Regions from separate parts of the Homo sapiens genome. Here region 2 is linked to region 1. Evidence: promoter capture Hi-C in human tissues and cell types (Jung and others, 2019). All regions are on one chromosome and are shown on one strand. The core of a region is centred on a gene start or on the middle of the fragment in contact, and the rest is flanking DNA. Distances in the headings are between cores, read along the strand shown. Region 1 holds the start of ZNF354C (zinc finger protein 354C). Region 2 overlaps ZNF354A (zinc finger protein 354A).

What was found. The method cuts DNA at HindIII sites, captures the fragments that hold promoters and counts their contacts. A contact is called where the count stands out against the background at its distance.
Region 2: a contact is called between a fragment that was not itself captured here and the fragment with the promoter of ZNF354C in region 1, in 1 of the 25 tissues and cell types used here (dorsolateral prefrontal cortex).

The regions. Positions count from the first base shown.
Region 1 is chr5:179,058,500-179,062,382 of GRCh38, reverse strand. It overlaps ZNF354C (zinc finger protein 354C), which reads right to left and starts at 2,010. Exons shown (of 5, transcript NM_014594.3): 1 at 1,717-2,010; 2 at 288-368. The coding sequence starts at 314. RefSeq lists an enhancer at 1,156-1,691. The HindIII fragment of the contact is 19,620 bases long and covers 1-3,883 here.
Region 2 is chr5:178,709,143-178,713,025 of GRCh38, reverse strand. ZNF354A (zinc finger protein 354A) reads left to right here. Exons shown (of 5, transcript NM_005649.3): 5 at 1-1,514. The coding sequence ends at 966. Among named protein-coding and RNA genes, the nearest start is that of MSANTD5, 13 kb to the right of the region's middle. The HindIII fragment of the contact is 7,128 bases long and covers 1-3,883 here.

The sequences.
Region 1 (3,883 bases), core at 761-3,260:
CATTCTCCCCACCCAGCACCAGTGTAGTGGGAAGCATATGCTCAGAACTGCCTCAAATGTGGATCACAGAGTGAGCGGGGTGAATTAAGAGTAGTCTCGGGACAAAAGAGGCACATTCCTCAGCAGCCCCTTGCTAAGCCCAAGACACTGGGAAAAACTTTTGAGGTTCCGGATTCTTCATCGTTTTGGTTGGACCAAAAAGTACCTGGACAAAGTCTGGAAACATGTCTACCATCTCTGAATCCAGAAGCCAACTGATGAAAAAGACAACCTTCACTCACTCTCACCTGAGCAGACAGCAGATCCACAGCCATCCCTTCCTCCTCAGTCTTCCTGCCCAGGGAGAGCAGAGTGTGGACACGGTGGGTCTGCAGAGGAAAAAGGTGTCAAGAGGAACCCTGGCGTCAGGAGATGGCTTGGAGAGAGGAAGTTACAACCGCCCATAATGTCCATCAGGTCTCAAAAAAGCCACCCCCCGTAATGATGTAAAGCAAGAAGAGTGTTTACTAGTTTACTAGGGCAATGTGCCAACCCTACTTCTATTTCTGCACTTGGACTCTTTAACTTCCACCTTCGGGCCTCTCAGCTACCTCTAGGCAAACCGTGACTCCCCCATGGATGTCTGGAGTCCTTCGCTAGCTTTGAACTGCACACCTAAAAGTCGCAATGAATATCCAGTCTCCTGGGGCGCCACTTCCCAGCCTAGCTAGCTGATCCTCATCCTGCCTGCCCTGCCTCACCCTTTCCTCCCTATGGTAGCCACGATAAAGAGGCTTCCCCGCATCCCTACCCTGGTGACAGACCCCACTGCTCGCCCTGAGTGGTCCTTCCGTGGAGTGCTGTGTTCTCCCCAAGAAACTGTGAGCATAATCCAACCACTCAGCTTTCCCAGCCTCTTTACTAGATCTTCGTCGGGCCTTACCACACTTTACCCAAGGTAACAGGATTAAGGCACTGTCCCCACCCAAAGCCAGAGCTTTGCTGTCCCTCCTAATACTCCACAGGTGCCGCCTCTAATGGCACCCACAACCAGAAACAGCCGTCGCTGCCCAAACACCAACCCCAGGTGGGAGAGGTGGAAACCGTGCCCGCCCCACAGAAAGCAAGGGAAGAGGCTGCCTGGGGCAGCCGGGCAAGTGTGAGGGCCTCCAGGCCCGCGATCTGCAGCGGCGACTCAGGGTGCCCCCTAGCATGGAGCCAACCTGGGGCTCTGCCAGGCCAGTTCCAGCGGGTGCCTCGACCAGCCCAGGGGAAGCTGCCACACAAGGCCTCGGTTACGCGACGAAGCGCACCTCCTCCCAGGAAGCGGTGAGTGTTTTCCACGCAGTATTTTCAATCTTCACATTTACAGATGTTACGGAGACTGAAAACCAGGAGGTCGTGACCTGCCCAAAGTCATAAGGGCCGGGAAGGCAATCCTGATCCTAGCCCCAGGCCCCAGTTACATCTGGGGCAATGACCTCGCCACTCTGCCTCGGTCTCCTCCTGACAGAGCGGGAACAGCGTACCGCCACCCTATCTGTTAGCAGGGATGCGCGGAGTTCGTTCGGGCGATGCGCTAGTCTGGTGCCTGGCACCCGAGCGCTCTCGGCGGGCATCAGCTATTGCTTTTATTATTTCCGTTACTCAGAAGAAAATGCACAGAAGAAAATCGCAGAATGAACAACGACAAAAGGCTGGCATCCCCACCCCAGCGGCCCGGCGCACCCAGCTCACCTGGCGAGGCGCTCCCTCCCGCGGGTCTCCGGCAGTCCAGGCCGCTCGCGGACGGCGCCCCGGGACCCAGTGGCCAAGGGGCCCGAGCCGCGTAGGGCTGGTCCCAGAAGCCCAGACGAGGCTGCACGCCGCCCACTCGCTGGAGAGGCCCGGATCCACCCCGGCCCGGAAGAGACCACTGCGAGCGCCTCAACCCCAGGCCGGCAATCCTAGCCAAGCCTGGATGGCCCAAGCCAGGAGAACCCCCGAAAGGCCGCGAGCTGTCCCCGAAACCCCGCCAACCGCGGGAGAACTACCACTCCCGGCATGCCTCCGGCCCCACGCCGACTACACTTCCCAGGGGACGCCGCGGTGCGCGCTGCGAACTCCGGGAGAGGAACCGCCTCCGCCAACGAGAGCTCTCAAAGGCGACAGTGCGCGGAGGGGCTGCAGTGCGAGGGAGTACGCACGCCGCACACGAGGCAGGAGGTCTCCAGCTGCTGGCCGTGCTGCCTACAGCCCGCGCACTTGTTAAGCAAGCGGAGTAGTTTGAAAAAACAAAACCGGAAATTAGATTCATTTAGGAGGATCAGTGTGCTGTAGCTCCCACCGCTGGTTGTGATTACTTTTCTGTTGATACAAAATAATTTACATAATGTATAGGGTCCATGTGAGTGCTTGTTACGTGCATAGACTGTAATGATCATCAAGTCACAGTATTTGGGGTATCCATCACCTTAAGCATTTATCATTTTTATGCGTTGGTATCATTTCAAGCCCTCTCTTCGATTTACTTTGAAATATACACAATATTATTGCCAAGTATAGTCACCCTAGTCTGCTATTAAATATTAGAAATTATTTCTTCCATCTAACTGTATGTTTGTACCCATAACCAACCTCTCTTCATTCCCCTTCCTTTCTGGCCTTCCTGGCCTTTGGTATCTATCCTCCTGTTGTCTATGTCCATGAGATCAAGTGTTTTAACTCCCGAATATAAGTGAGAACATGCAGTACTTGTCTTTCTGTGCCTGGCTTATTTCACTTAACATAATGACCTTCGGCTCCATCCATGTTGCTGTGAATACATTATTTCATTCATTTTTATGGCAGAATAGTATTCCATTGTGTCTATGTATGACATTTTCTTTACCCATTCATCTATTGCTGGTAGGTTGAGTCTATATCTTGGCTACTGCAAATAGTGCAGTGACAAACGTGAGTGCAGGTATCCTTTTCATATACTGATTTCTCTCCCTTTACCAGTAGTAGGGTTGCTGGATTGTATGGTAGTTCCATTTTTAGTTTTTTGAGAAACCTCCACACTGTTTTCCATAGTGGCTGTACTAATTTACATTCCCACCAATAGTGTATAAGAGTTCCCTTTTCCCCAAATCCTCACTGGCATCTGTCATTTTTTTGTCTTTATAATAATAATCATTCTAACTGGAGTGAGCTTATATCTAATTAGAAAGTGTTAGTAACCAAAAGAGCATGATATTTGTATAAAAATAGACACACACACCCCCCCATGGAACAGAATAAGAGAACCCAGAAATCAGTGCACCCATTTACAGCCAACTGATTTTCAACAAAGGTGCCAAGAACACACAATGAGGAAAGGACTACGTCTTTAATAAATGGTTCTGGGGAAAACTGGATAATAATATGCAGAAGAATGAACTTGGACCCCTTCTCTCTCAACATATATAAAAGTCAACTCCAGATAGATTAAAGATTTAAAGACTCCAAACTATAAAACTGATAGAAGGAAACATCGGGACAACTCTTCAGGACATTGATCTAGGCAAAGATTTTTCTTTTTCTTGCCTGTGCTTTTGAGGTCTGTGGCTAAGACCTCAAAAGCACAGGCAACAAAAAGAAAAATAAACAACTATATTAATCTAAAAAGTGTCTGCACAGCAAAAGAAACAACAGAGTGAAGCAACAACTTGAGAGAAAATATTTATAAATTACTCATCCAACAAAGGACTAATACCCAGTATATACAAAGAATTCAAATAACAGGTTTGTGACCAGCCAGGCCAATGTGGCGAAACCCCGTCTCTACTAAAAATGCAAAAATAGCCAGGCGTGGTGGTGCATGCCTGAAACCCCAGCTACTTGGGAGGCTGAAGCAGGAGAATTCCTTGAACCTGGGAGGTGGAGGTTGCAGTGAGCTCAGATC
Region 2 (3,883 bases), core at 935-3,434, 350 kb after region 1:
CTTTATAAACATCTAAGAACCCATACTGTGGAGAAATCCTACAGATGTAAAGAATGTGGTAAATCCTTCAGCCGAAGGTCAGGCCTTTTTATACATCAAAAAATTCATGCTGAAGAAAACCCTTGTAAGTATAATCCGGGTAGGAAGGCATCTAGTTGCAGCACATCCCTTTCTGGATGTCAAAGAATTCATTCTAGAAAGAAGTCCTACTTATGTAATGAATGTGGCAACACCTTTAAGTCTAGCTCATCCCTTCGTTATCATCAGAGAATTCACACTGGAGAGAAGCCTTTTAAATGTAGTGAATGTGGGAGAGCCTTCAGCCAGAGTGCCTCTCTTATTCAACATGAAAGAATTCACACCGGAGAAAAGCCCTATAGATGCAATGAATGTGGGAAAGGCTTTACTTCTATTTCACGACTTAATAGACACCGAATCATTCATACTGGAGAGAAGTTTTATAATTGTAATGAATGTGGTAAAGCCTTAAGCTCCCACTCAACACTTATTATTCACGAGCGAATTCATACTGGAGAAAAACCATGTAAATGTAAAGTATGTGGAAAAGCCTTCAGACAGAGTTCAGCTCTCATTCAACATCAGAGAATGCATACTGGAGAAAGACCCTATAAATGTAACGAGTGTGGGAAAACATTCAGGTGTAACTCATCACTTAGTAATCACCAGAGAATTCATACTGGAGAGAAACCATATCGATGTGAGGAATGTGGGATATCTTTTGGCCAAAGTTCAGCTCTTATTCAGCATCGAAGGATTCATACAGGAGAAAAACCCTTTAAATGTAATACATGTGGAAAAACTTTTAGACAAAGCTCATCACGTATTGCACATCAGAGAATTCATACTGGAGAGAAACCCTATGAATGTAATACATGTGGGAAACTTTTCAACCATAGGTCATCCCTTACTAATCATTATAAAATTCATATCGAAGAGGACCCCTAGAAAGTAGATTTGTATGTGTGAAAGCCTTAAACCAAAGCTCATCGAAGAATACATCCTTGAGAGAGATGTAATAAATGTAATGGATGTGAAAAAAACTGTAATAATTTAGCCCTCATTAGGTATTTAATTCCATGGATAAACCTCAGCTATATAATAGATATGAGGAAAGTGTTTGTGCCTGTCAGACACTTAAAAAAATAACCTGAGATGAAGAATTTACAATTGAAGACATTGACTTTAGCCATTTGTGAAATGGGTTTGCTTTTTCCCTTTTCCTACAGACGTATATGCTAGATGTCACGTGATCATCAGAAACAGATATCCGAGTGGGTGGGGAGGTGTGCTTTAGATTTCTCATTAGAAGACCACCAAACTGGTAATATTTTTATAGCATTTTAATAGCTTGATCAAATTGTACCTTTTTAGAGAAAAGGACCAAAATAAAAGAAAAATGAATTATGAACTACCTCTCAGTCTCTGGGGTTTGTCCTTTTCCTACCCTGATGTCAAACTTATGCATGGATTTCATTAAAAAAGAAAAAGAAAAATCTGGTCTTTTGTTCTAGTAGTTGTGAATTTTCTACTCAACTGTCTTAACTTGGTTTTGGATTTTATTTCTCTGAAGTCATTTATTAGGTGTACCAGTTATATGCCCTGAACTGTATTAGATAGAAAAACAGGCAATAATTTCAGGTTTAAAGCTACTAAATATGTATGTATGTATTTATTATTATTATTTTTATTTTGAGATGGAGTCTCTGTCACCCAGGCTGGAGTGCAATGGTGCGATCTCGGCTCACTGCAACCTCCGCCTCCCAGGTTCAAGCAATTCTCCTGCCTCAGCCTCTCGAGTAGCTGGGATTACAGGCACCTGCCACCACACCCGGCTATTTTGTATTTTTAGTAGAGACAGGGTTTCTCCATGTTGGCCAGGCTGGTCTTGAACTCCTGACCTCAGGTGATCTGCCTGCCACGGCCTCCCAAAGTGCTGGGATTACAGGTGTGAGCCACCGTGCCCGGCCACCCTAAATATGTATTTTTTAAATTTATAACGAACACATCAGAAGAACTTTCGCAAATCTAACACCTGTGGCAAACTCTTGAAAAGGACATTGCTATGGTCTCAATGTTTATGTCTCCCCCAAATCCCTGTGTTCAAATGCTAACCTCCAAGGTGATGGTATCATGAAGTGGGATGTGTGAAGAGGTGATCAGATCAGAAGGGCGGAGCCCTCAGTGCCCTTATCAGAGAGCCCCAAGGGAGCTTGTTCTGCCCTTCAGCCATGTGAAGGCACAGTGGTAAGATACCTTCTTTGAATCAAGATGGCCATAACCAGACACCAAACCTGCTAGCACTTTAAATGGGTTTCCCAGCCTCCAGAACTGTGAGAAATATTTTATTAGTTACCTAGTATGATGAGGTTATTTTGTTACAGCAGCCCAAACAAGACATGTGAATTGTTTCATAAACTTAGTGTAGTGTGACAGATCCCCTACCAGGTTACCTAAGGGTTTATATCCACTACTTGAGCCCTGAAGTCTGGACAGTAAGCAGAGGCCATGGTGCCCAGCTGAGGAGCAAGTGTCCCTGAGAACCCAAACATCCCAGAGTATCTGGGAACACACTAAGCAAACAGTCCAATCACACACGAGGCAAAGAGCCAGAAAACTGGCTTAAAAGCAGCTTAGAGGTGCGAGGTGGTGCAGATCTCCAGAGCTGTCCTGCTGCAGTCCAGGAGAGCCCTGTATGGAAGTCATAATAAACTCATCTGCTCATCAAGCTGGACTTGTCTGAGTCATTCTTTGGTCTCTCGGCTCCTTCCCAGTTTGAGGGGGGACATTACAGTCCTAAGTTTTTCTCAACAGTAAATATTTTTTAACTTTGGAGCAGGTACTATACAAGTTTACAAGTTTTAAAACTGTACAAGTTTTAAGACAGACACAGGCTTTTCTTCAAGAAGCCATGAATTGGGAAGGGGATGGAGTTGGGCTAGCAAATGAGCAAGCAGATTATATTGCAGTTTTTGTTGTTTCAGTAGGCAAATAAGTTATGACAATATGTTCCACTATGAAAATATTGTAAAGATTTGCACAGGATGAAGAAAGAGACTCATGAAGAAAGCCTGGAGACATCAAAGCTTTCCAGGGGCAATGATGCCTGGGCTATATTTGGGGAGAATAGTAGGAACTCCGAGGGAGACAGAAGCATTCCGATTAAGAGGAAACAGCATGCGCCAAACCACAGGTGGATAATAGGACATTTGGAAAACTTAATTTAGAACTAGTGAGCAGGAAAATGACAAATGTTAAAGCTCGAGTAGAAGGCAGAAGCCAAATCACAAAAGGCCTTATTTGCCAAGCTAAGGAGTTTGGATTTTATGGTAAAATCGGTGGAGTCAAAGATGGTAAGCAAGGGAAATTCCATAGAAGATAAGCGTATGGGGTTGAAGAAAGCTGATGACTGATGCCACCCAGGAAATCTGGGCTGTTTAAATTCAAGTAATAGGTAAATGAGGGTTCCAACTCAAACAGGGACAGCATTGATGGAGAACAGGAGACAGATAATCATGTATTAGAATAAATAAGGCATGGTTTTCATAGGCAAATAGGTGAGAGTGGCAAGTGAGGAGAAAGCTGACTCACAGGTAGGGTTGCCAAACGTCCTGTATTTAATGATTTTGTCCTGAATCCTGTATTAACTTTGTTAGGATGCCTTAAATGTATTCAGGGTTTCTCCCCTCATTAATGAAAAATCAGCACTTTGAGCTACGGTTCTGCTTCAGTAATTGGCGCTTAAATCGCTTAAGTGGCAATACAAGTTGGAAATCATACCTCCACAAATAAAGATCTGAACCATCTCTTATGTTTTATCCTATGTGTTTGACTGAGGGAAGGCAAAAGGGGGAAGTGAGAATAA